2 separate regions of the Homo sapiens genome follow, and region 1 is linked to region 2. The links are contacts of gene promoters, found by promoter capture Hi-C in human tissues and cell types (Jung and others, 2019). All regions are on one chromosome and are shown on one strand. Each heading gives the region's core, a stretch centred on a gene start or on the middle of the fragment in contact. The rest is flanking DNA. Distances are from core to core; before and after follow the strand shown.

Region 1 (5,392 bases), core at 830-3,329, 76 kb before region 2:
TTTAATTGTAATTAACTTAAATGTCAATAGCCATGTGTGGCTAGTGGCTGCCATATTGAACACTCAGTTCTAATATTCATCTATTTTCTCCAAAGACGGCAGACCCCCAAGGAGTGACCTATGCTGAGCTAAGCACCAGCGCCCTGTCTGAGGCAGCTTCAGACACCACCCAGGAGCCCCCAGGATCTCATGAATATGCGGCACTGAAAGTGTAGCAAGAAGACAGCCCTGGCCACTAAAGGAGGGGGGATCGTGCTGGCCAAGGTTATCGGAAATCTGGAGATGCAGATACTGTGTTTCCTTGCTCTTCGTCCATATCAATAAAATTAAGTTTCTCGTCTTAAAAAGAAATCTGACTTATTTATGGATTATTCATGCCCAAGAACCCCACCATACTCTTTCTACCCCACATTTCCTCCTAGAACAATTCAAGGAAATAATAAATAATGATTGACCAGCTATCCAGGAAAGAATGTAAGAATTACTGAGCATCTCCAGGAAGCACAACAAGCAAAAAAGAAAACGGCCGGGCTCACGCCTGTCATCCCAGCACTTTGGGAGGCCGAGGTGGGTGGATCATCTGAGGTCAGAGTTCAAGACCAGCCTGACCAACATGGTGAAATCCCATCTCTACTAAAAATAAAAAATTAGTTGGACGTGGTGGCAGGCGCCTGTAATCCCCGCTACTTGGGAGACTGAGGCAGAAGAATCGCTTGAACCCAGGAGGCAGAGATTGCAGTGAGCTGAGATGGCGCCATTGAATTCCAGCCTGGGCAATGGAGTGAGACTCCATCTCAAAAAAAAAAAAAAAAAAAAACAAAAAACGCCCAGAGCTGCAAACTCCTAGACCAGAGGGCAGAAAACAAAAGGACCAGAGAGTAACACGTCCAGCTTTGTGGGCTGTAGGATCTCTGCTGAGACTACCCCACTCTGCTGTTGTACCATGAAAGCAGCCATCGCTGATATGTAAACAAGTAGGTGTGGCGGTGTTAGAATAAAACTTTATTTACAACTTCATGTTCTCACTCATGTAGGAGCTAAAAAAGTAGATCTCATGAAGGTAAAGAGAGAGTCAGTTATCAAAGGCTAGAAGGGGTGGGATAGTTAATGGGCACAAACACAGTTGGATAGAAGGAATAAGTTCAAGTGTTCAATAGCACAGAAGGGTGACTATAGTTAACAGCAATATATTGTATATTTCAAAATAGCTAGAAGAGAAGATTTGAAACATTCCCAACACAAACGATAAATGAGCCAGGTGCAGTGGCTCACTCCTGTAATCCCAACACTTTGAGAGGCCAAGATGGGTGGATCACCTGAGGTCAGGAGTTCAAGACCAGCCTGGCCAACAAGGTGAAACCCCATCTCCACTAAAAATACAAAAATTAGCTGGGTGTGGTGGCGCACACCTGTAATCCCAGCCACTTGGGAGGCTGAGGCAGAAGAATTGCTTGAACTCGGGAGGCAGAGGTTGCAGTGAGCCAAGATCACACCACTGTACTCCAGCCTGGGCGACAGAGAGAGACTCTGTCTCGAAAAGATAAAAAAAAAGATAAATGTTTGAGGTGGTGAATATCCTAAATACCCTAATTTGAGTATTATACATTCTGTGCATGTATCAAACTATCACATGTATGTCATAAATATGCATAAATATTATGTATCTATAGAAAGTTTTTTTTTTTTTGATGGAGTCTTGCTCTGTCGCCCAGGCGCCAGAGTGCAGTGGCGTGATCTCAGCTCGCTGCAACCTCTCCCCGCAGGTTCAAATGATTCTCCTGTCTCAGCCTCCTGAGTAGCTGGGATTACAAGCTTCTGCCATCACACCAGGCTAATTTTTTTGTATTTTTAGTAGAGATGGGGTTTCACCATGTTGGCCAGGCTGGTCTTGAGCTCCTGACCTCAAGTCATCCGCCTGCCTCGGCTTCCCATAGTGCTGGGATTACAGGCGTGAGCCACCGTGCCCAGCCCAGAAAGTTGTTTTAAAAACAAAAAATTTTATTTGCAAAAACAAGCTGTGGGCTCTAGCGTGCCAACCCTTGTGCTAGGCCAGTGCTTTTTAAAGTCTGCTTGGGCCATCACCCCAACCACTTCTGGCCCTGATGAGGGTCCAGGGCATGAGAGGGAAGGAGAGAGTGTCTTAGTCCATCCAGGCTGCTATCAACATACCAAAGACCTGGCAGCTTACAGACAACACATAGTTATTTCTCATGGTTCTGGAGGCTGGAAGTCCAAGACCAAAGCACTGGTAGATTCAGTGTCTGCTGAGGGCTTTTTTCCTGGTTCATAGCTGGCACCTTCTTGCTGTGTCCTTACATAGTGAAAGAGACTGGGCCGGGCGCAGTGGCTCACGCCTGTAATCTCAGGACTTTGGGAGACCGAGTGGGGGGCGGATCACCTGAGATCAGGAGTTCGAAACCAGCCTGACCAACACGGTGAAACCCCATCTCTACTAAAAATATAAAAATTAGCTGGGCGCAGTGGTGGGTGCCTGTCATCCCAGCTACTTGGGAGGCTGAGGCAGGAGAATTGCTTGCACCTGGGAGGCGGAGGTTGAAGTGAGCCGAAATCGTGCCACTGCACTCCAGCCTGAATGACAGAGCCAGACTCCATCTCAAAAAAAAAAAAAAAAAAAAGAGTGAAGGCTTAATAAGCAAAAGAAAGAGAAAAGAGAATAGTTCTCTCTTTTGCACAGAGAAGAGAGGGGTTCCCGAGTGGGACCCCTGGTTTTGTGGTGAAATGCATGGGGCTTTTATAGACAAGCTTGAGGAGGTGCTGTCTGATTTACATAGGGCCTGAGAGATTAGTCGGACCAGGTATGACGTTTGCATAGCCCCCAAAGAAGCTGGCCATCCCACCCTAATCTTTTATTACGTAGGTAGGGTCTCTGCCTGGCCGGGGCCATGTTGTCTGCTTTTTTACTGCACATGTGGGGACAAAGAAAAGGGAAGAGGGAACCTCCATGTTGAATATACCCGGCTCCCAGGCATCCGTTTTCTATTGGCACAGCTGATGCAAGATTTTAGCTTGTTTATCTATGCTTGCAGCTTGATGTTTCAGGCTGCTTTCTGTTAGAAAAGAAATTATTTGGGGGCTGCTCTTTATTAATAGGAAACCTTACTGAGGACTCTCTTACCCTCACTGTCTGCCTCAATAATTTCTTTTTAGCTCCCGTATTACAAATACCATCACCTTGGGGTTAGGTTCCAACAGCTGAATTTTGTCGGGACACAAACATTGAGTTTACAATACCCATGAAGCTGTCTCTGCTTGTATCTTGTCCTAACCAGAAGCTCCCAGGATTGCTGCATCTGAAGGAACAACCTTGATATATGGCTTGTGTCTGTGTCCCCACCCAAATCTCATCTTCAGTTGTAGCTCCCATAATTCCCATGTGTTGTGGGATGGACCCAGTGGGAGATAATTCAATCATGGGGGTGGATTCCTGCAGGGTCCTATGGGGCTTTGCAGGTGTTCTCCCCGTGTGCAGAGATAAGAGATTGTAAGAAATAAAGACACAAGACAAAGAGATAAAGAGAAAACAGCTGGGCCCGGAGGACCACAACCATCAAGACGCGGAGACCGGTAGTGGCCCATAACGGCTGGGCGCGCTGATACTTATTGCATACAAGATAAGGGGGCAGGGTAAGCAGGGTGAATCTTCGAAGTGATTGACAAGGTGAAGCAAGTCGTGTGATCACAGGAGAGGGGGCCCTTCCCTCTTAGGTAGCCGAAGCAGAGAGAGAGGGAGAAGGCAGCATACGTCAGCGTTTTCTTCCATGCACTTATAAGAAAGATCAAAGACTTTAAGACTTTCACTATTTCTTCTACCGCTATCTACTATGAACTTCAAAGAGGAGCCAGGAGTACGGGAGGAGCATGAAAGTGGACAAGGAGTGTGAGCACTGAAGCACAGCACCACAGGGAGGGGTTTAGGCCTCCGGATGACTGCGGGCAGGCCTGGATAATATCCAGCCTTCCACAAGAAGCTGGTGGAGCAGAGTGTTCCCTGACTCCTCCAAGGAAAGGAGACTCCCTTTCACCGTCTGCTAAGTAACGGGTGCCTTCCCAGACACTGGCGTTACCGCTTGACCAAGGACCCCTCAAGCGGCCCTGATGCACGCGTGACAGAGGGCTCACCTCTTGCCTTCTAGGTCACTTCTCACCATGTCCCTTCAGCACCTGACCCTATACCCGCCGGTTATTCCTAGGTTATATTAGTAATGCAGCAAAGAGTAATATTAAAAGCTAATGATTAATAATGTTTATAATAATGATTGATAATTGTCCATGATCATCTCTACATCTAATTTGTATTATGACTATTCTTATTCTATTTTCTTTATTATACTGCAACAGTTTGTGCCTTCAGTCTCTTGCCTCAGCACCTGGCTAATCCTCCACCCACACATTCCCCCATGCCGTTCTCATGGTAGTGAACAAGTCTCAGGAGAGCTGAGGTTTTTATAACGGGTTTCCCCTTTTGCTTGGCTCTCTCATTTCTCTGTCGTCTGCCACCATGTAAGATGTGCCTTTCACCTTCTGCCATGATTGTGAGGCCTCCCCAGCCATGTGGAACTGTAAGTCCGTTATACCTCTTTTTTAAAAAGTAAACTGACTGGGCGCAGTGGCTCACGCCTGTAATCCCAGCACTCTGGGAGGCCGAGGCGGGTGGATCATGAGGTCAGGAGATCGAGACCATCCTGGATAACACAGTGAAACCCCGTCTCTACTAAAAATACAAAAAATTAGCCGGGCGCGGTGGCGGGCGCCTGTAGTCCCAGCTACTCAGGAGGCTGAGGCAGGAGAATGGTGTGACCCCGGGAGGCGGAGCTTGCAGTGAGCGGAGATCGTGCCACTGCACTCCAGCCTGGGTGACAGAGTGCGTCTCAAAAAAATAAATAAATAAAAATAAAAATAAAAATAAATTACTCAGTCTCAGGTATGTCTTTATCAGCAGTGTGAAAACAGACTAACGCAAACTTCTTCGCTCCCCCTCCCCTCACTACACAGTCCCAGGTTGCAGTGTGGAGGCCACATAGGGAGTAGCAAGGTGGGGAGGAGTGTCTCTTTGTTTTCTTGCCACAGAGAGTCATTCTTTTTTAAGCTTGGGAGTTCTTGGTGGCCATCTGTCTCGCCATGTGGAGGAAGCCAGTCTTTATGGAGAAACACAAAGATGACTCAGGGAGCATCCGGGAAGCGGGAGTGAGTAACAGTGCTTTCAGCTTTTGTTTTCTTGGTTCTAATTGCTTCCAAAGCTCAGCATTCCTTCACTCCCTGCAGTTTTCTTGCCCAATCCTTCTTGAACCAAAAAAACCCAAAAAGTCCTCCTTTGATTCTAAGCTATTCTGAGAATGGATTTTGTTTTGATTGAAGGGTCCTGGCAAACATT
Region 2 (5,610 bases), core at 154-2,653:
GAGTGAGGGCGAGTTAAGGCACGAAGTTTCAGGGGAGCAGCAGCCAAAGAGAAGGGGAAAGAGACAGACCGGAAGACTGGGCCGTGAAAGGGGGCGGGAGAGGCAGGGGACTTCAGAGGACTGGGGGGGAAATGTCGGGAGAGAGAAGATGTCACGGGGCACGAGGGAGAGGAAATGAAGGGGCAGGTGGAGCGGAGGAGCAGGGTCAAGATGAACTGACGGGAAAGAGGGAGAAAGAGGCTGCTGGGTGCAGTGGCTCATGCCCTTCATCCCAGCACTTTGGAGGCCAAGGCAGGAGGATCTCTTGAGCTCAGGAGCTCGAGACCAGCCTGGGCAACAGGAGACCTCATCTCTACAAATAATAAAAAAAATTAGCTGGGCACAGTGGCTCATGCCTGTGGTCCCAGCTACTCAGGAGGCAGAGGTGGGAGGATGGCTTGAGCCTAGGGATTCGAGGCTGCAGTGAGCTGTGATTGTGCCACCGTACTCCAGCCTGGGCGACAGAGTGAGACCTTGTCAAAAAAAAAAAAAAAAAGAGAAAAGGCACAGGGCAGAGTGGAAGAAATGAAACAGGAGGAGCCCCAGGTACTGGAGAGAGGGAAGATGCAGGGGTGTGATGGGGCAGCGCAGGAGACACGGACTAGGGAAAGATAGGATAAGGGGGTTCAGCGGAGAGGCAGAGGGGCTGCAGAGGGAGCATGCCGAGGAATTCCGCAGGGTGCCAGGACGCAGGGAGGAGTGGGAAGGAGGGGAGAGGAGGTCAGGGGCGCGAGTGGGAAGGCGCAGAAGCCCCTCTGGCAGAGGAGGAGGGGTGCCCAAGGGGGCCCCAGGATCAGGGACAGGCAGCCCCGGGAGGCTCAGGGTCTCTCGGAGGGGAGCGGCGGGGGCTGCGGGGAGGGCCGCCCGCACCCTACCTTCCAGGCAGCAGATCCTCCAGAGGCCCGAGTGCGTGAGGCCGCCGGGGTCCTTCTTCTCCGAGGCGCCGCCGCCCCCGCGGTGGGGGGTCCCGTCGTCGCCGCCGGCCGTGAGGTTGGTGGTGTTGCAGATGAGGGCGCGCGTGTAGAGCCAGTAGTCAGTGCTGATGGCGATGGTCATGAGGCCGAAGGCGGCGAAGGCGCCCACCGTCGTCAGCAGCACCTGCACCCCCTTCTCGCACCAGAGGCCCCGCTCTTCGTTCCAGCGCTTCAGCGACTCCAGTTTGACCACGGGCAGCCGGGGGGCCGTGGGCCACCACCGGGGCAGCGGGGGCGGGGCCGTGCCGGCGGCTGGGGGGGGGTTCACAGCGCAGGCAGAAGCGGGGGGCCCGGGGCCGGCGGGGCTGGGGAGGGGGGCGGCGAGGAGGAGGCTGCGGCCGGGGAGGGGGTCAGAGCGCGGCCATGGTCGGCGGCTGGTGGAGGGCAAGGAGCGAGATCTCGCATTAGAGGAGAAGAAGGCACAGGTACCTCCCCCAGTCCCCGCCCCCCCCCCCCCAAAATCCCTGCCTCAGCTCCAGAAACTCCTTCCACTCGGGGCTCCACTGCTTCTCTTTCTCAAAAATAATAATAATAATAATAATAATAATAATAATTAATAAATAAGATGAAATCTCTCTCCACTCTTGTCTTCTGCCCAAGAAAGTCATCCCACCATCCCACTAACCCCACTCGGAGGAGTCCCCACCACCGCTAATAATTAATAAATAAGATGAAATCTCTCTCCACTCCTGTCTTCTGCCCAAGAAAGTCGTCCCACCATCCCACTAACCCCACTCGGAGGAGTCCCCACCACCGCTAATAATTAATAAATAAGATGAAATCTCTCTCCACTCCTGTCTTCTGCCCAAGAAAGTCGTCCCACCATCCCACTAACCCCACTCGGAGGAGTCCCCACCACCGCTAATAATTAATAAATAAGATGAAATCTCTCTCCACTCCTGTCTTCTGCCCAAGAAAGTCGTCCCACCATCCCACTAACCCCACTCGGAGGAGTCCCCACCACCGCTCACACTCACAGCCCTCGCCCCTAGCCCGCGCCGCCTCCGCCCCAGGGGGCTCCACGATCCTCATCGCATGGGAAGCCACCCCCCGCCATGATGCCAAGCCCCACGCCGCCGCCTCCTCCCCAGGAGCCCCCGTCGCGTTCTTCCTTCCTTAGCGACCCCCGCCCCATCACCATGCGGCGCCCACCAGCTCTCCCCACTCTTCCCCTGCAAGCCCCACCTCTCCACCCGCTAGAACCCTTCCCTGTCAGCCCAACTTTTCCCTGAGCGTCTCCACAACTTAAGAAGCCCGAGTAGCACCACTTCCGTGGGAGTAACCTCCGCGAGCCCCCTCCGGTCTGGCTTTTGTCATTCCATCACTCCAAATGGTCCCCCACAGTTTCCTCTCCTTAGGAAAAAATAAATCTCTCAACCTCTCTTCAACTAAAAAGGAAAAATTAAAAGAAGAAGAAAAAGAAAAAGAAAATCCCAGCTGACCCTCACAGTTTGTGCAACTCGGAATCACCAGCCACCCTCAGTCAGCCTCCTCTCCCTGGAAGCCCCCTTCCTGCCTCGGGCAGCCTCCAACACACCTGGAAATCACCCGAGGACCTTAAAAATTCGGATGTTTGAGTCCCACCTGAGAAAGTCCGACATGGTTGGTCTGCAGTGTGGCCTGCGCATGTAAGTTTTTAAAAGCTCCCTGGGGAATTCTAATGCACCCAACATCAGACCCACTGGTTTGCAAGCTGCCCCCCCCCCGCCATCTCCAGCCCATTCCCTGTCACAGCCCCCACTGTCTCCCCACAAGCCACTCACTCCCCACCCCATACTATGCCTTTACTCCAGGAAAACCCCCACCCTCTCTTTTGCTTTAGAAGAGTTTTCTGAATCTTCCCACCCCGCCACCCCCCCCCCCACAACTTAAACGAACTCATATCATAACCATCGTTTTCTCCTCCATTAAGAAAAATTTCCTCCGTGAGTTCCACGGCATTTTCTACTCGCAAGAATGGCTTCCTCCAGACCCCAAATGTCTCTCCACTCAGGACCATTCCAATCTCTGCCCTGTACTCCCATAGCAGGGGGCACACTGTACCACCCACCCGCCCCTCTGCACTCACAGCAGCTCCCACTGCCTCCAAATCCCCTCCTCGTAGCCCTTCATCATCACACGGGATCTTCAGCACACTGTTTCCCCCAACTTGAGATCCCCCTAACTCACTTTGAAGCCCACTCTCTCTTCAATGTACCAGGAAGCATCCTCCCCAACTTCTCTCTCATCATATAGAATTCCCTTGACTCACTTCCTCTTGCTCCACCGCTATAGCTCCCAGGTTCTCCTCTGCCCCGGAAAATCCCCTCCGCAGGCCCCCACAGGCTTCCCTTCTTGGGAACGCCCCCCAGTACTCCCCTCTACGACTTCACCTGTACAGGAACACACACTGTAGCCCCTCATCTTCTTCCACATGCAGAAAGAGCCCCCCCAGTAGACTGTGTCCCTCTGAAAAATGTGATCCGCAAGACTACAACTCTCTTTTCAATTAGGAATACTTTCCCAGCCTGCACCCGCTGCCCCGTGGCTCCTTCATTTCTCTCTTCCACATTCTCCCCCGACCACCATGCCCCCAGCCCTGCCTGTCTCCCCCACCCCAACTGTCCTCTGGGGGATGTACTCCTTACTTGCTTCCACACTGCTTCTTCAACTTCTTCCCCCAAACCCACTATAGTTAAGAGCCTGGAAACCTTAGACGAAGAGGGGATTAAAAAAAAACAAAACAAAAACCAGAACCTAGGTCCCAGTACAGGGTGACCTTGGCCTCCTGATTGCTTGCCCGTCTCCACTGCCCCCCATCAGCTGGCCTCAGACTGGGGCTGCTCCGAGGAGGGGCTGTGGAAAAAGGTTGTCTATGGGGGGTGTCTCCATGGCAACTGGGCCTAGTGCCCCACACGTTGTGTTCCCTCCCCCACCTCAACTCCCGTCTGCCCACACACAGCCCTTCCTCAGGCCACAGTTCAGCAGCCCGCTGGACAGGGCAACCCCCAGCCTCCCGGCCTGGGCGCCGGCCCCTTCCTCTCTTTTCTGTCCGCATGCTGAGTTTCCTCTCTTCTTGATCTCTTGGCCTCTTCTCCCCGAATTGGTGCCCCTCACCACCAGCAGGGCCACCTACCCTGTCTTAACAGATATCTGCTCTCAGTGGGGTAAGCCTGTGACCCCAGGCCCCTAACAACCTGGGATAAGAGGGGAAGGGAAGAGGAGGGAAAGGAGGGAAATTCTCCTTCCGTCCAAAAAAAAAAAAAAAGATTCGAAGATCTTTTCATTTTGTCAATTTGGGGCACAATCTGGTTTTAGGGACTCTTAGTCCATCGTTCAGCAGCTGCCAGGGAGAAGAGAGCTGGGGACCCCCAATTCTAAAGCTTCCGGATATGAGGGGGTCACTCTCCTTTCTCCTTAGGAAGGGGACCAGCTCTTTTCTCCAGAATTCGGGGGGGGGGATCACAGAACATTAATTCTACCTCCACCCACCTCCGATTAATAAAAAGATCTGTCTCACCTCTGTTAATGATAGGTCAACTCTCCGATGCACGGAGGAGGGGACGTCGAGCCCCCCCTGTTGGCACCCCCCCCAGAAAAACCTTTTGGCTCCCAATTCTCGCTGCTTCCCCCTCCCCCAGCAGTGAGGGACCCAGGCGTCCGACCTGGTTCGGGGAGTGGAGATGAGGAGGCGTATGGGGAATGGGGGTGCTGAGGTCAGGCTGGGGCTGGGGGGCAGCTCTGAGCCTGGGCCCCAAGGGAGTGAGGGTCGGGATATATATATTAAAAAAAAAAGGTGAGGAGACAATTTGGTTCTCGTGTCGCTGGGTAAAGTGCGGAGCTGGAGGACGAGAGGGAGGGAGTAGGGAGGGAGGGGGAGGGGAGCTGCTGAGGGATGGGGAGCCTCGGAGAGGAGATGGATGGGGGAAGGGAAAGAGGGGGGCAGGGTCGAGTGGCAGAAGGAAGCCGGAGGAGAAGAGAGAGATCCAGAGAGGGAGGGAGAGAGACAGAGAGAGACGAGGAGAAACGGAAAGAGAGAGACCCAGAGACCGCGAAACAGAAATGGGGGAGGGAGAAATTTGGGGGAGGCAGCGGCTGGAAGCAGAAGGAAGTTGGAGAGATACACACAGAGAAATATCCAGAGAGAGAAGGGGACAGGGACAGAGACTCAAAGAGAGAAACGCAGGGGCTGGGGGGGAGGGGGTGGGGGAGGGCTGGGGTAAGTGTGTGTGTGGGGGGGGTCAGGATCTGGGAAACAGAAGGAAAGAAGAGAGAGGGAGAGAGTCATCCAGAGAGGAGGGAGGAGGGACAGATGGGGAGAGACAGACAGAAAGAGAGAGACTGAGAGGATGGGGGAGAGAGGGGGGAGAGGGAATGAAATGGAGAGCGGGTAGGGAGAGAAATTGGGGATGGGGGCAAGGTCTTGCTAGAGAGAAGGAAGCTTTAAAGAGAGAAGAAGATGCGGAGAGGGAGCGGGGGAGCAAGATAGTAAATGAAAGAAATGGAGGGTAGAAGGGCCTGGATGGCAGAAGGTACCTGGGGAAAGAAAGGCAAGTGCAGGAAAAGAGGGAGACCCAGAGAGAGACAGACGGAGAGGGACTGAGACAGGAAGAGAGAG

The links. Contacts are between HindIII fragments. The study calls those that stand out against the background at their distance.
Region 1: a contact is called between a fragment that was not itself captured here and the fragment with the promoter of CACNG8 in region 2, in 2 of the 25 tissues and cell types used here (pancreas and spleen).

The regions. Positions count from the first base shown.
Region 1 is chr19:54,035,784-54,041,175 of GRCh38, reverse strand. VSTM1 (V-set and transmembrane domain containing 1) reads left to right here. Exons shown (of 9, transcript NM_198481.4): 9 at 96-351. The coding sequence ends at 215. Among named protein-coding and RNA genes, the nearest start is that of VSTM1, 25 kb to the left of the region's middle. RefSeq lists an enhancer at 4,716-5,291. The HindIII fragment of the contact is 3,712 bases long and covers 224-3,935 here.
Region 2 is chr19:53,958,730-53,964,339 of GRCh38, reverse strand. CACNG8 (calcium voltage-gated channel auxiliary subunit gamma 8) reads right to left here and starts at 1,403. Exons shown (of 4, transcript NM_031895.6): 1 at 915-1,403. The coding sequence starts at 1,197. RefSeq lists enhancers at 2,042-2,562, 3,373-4,273. The HindIII fragment of the contact is 7,710 bases long and covers 1-4,904 here.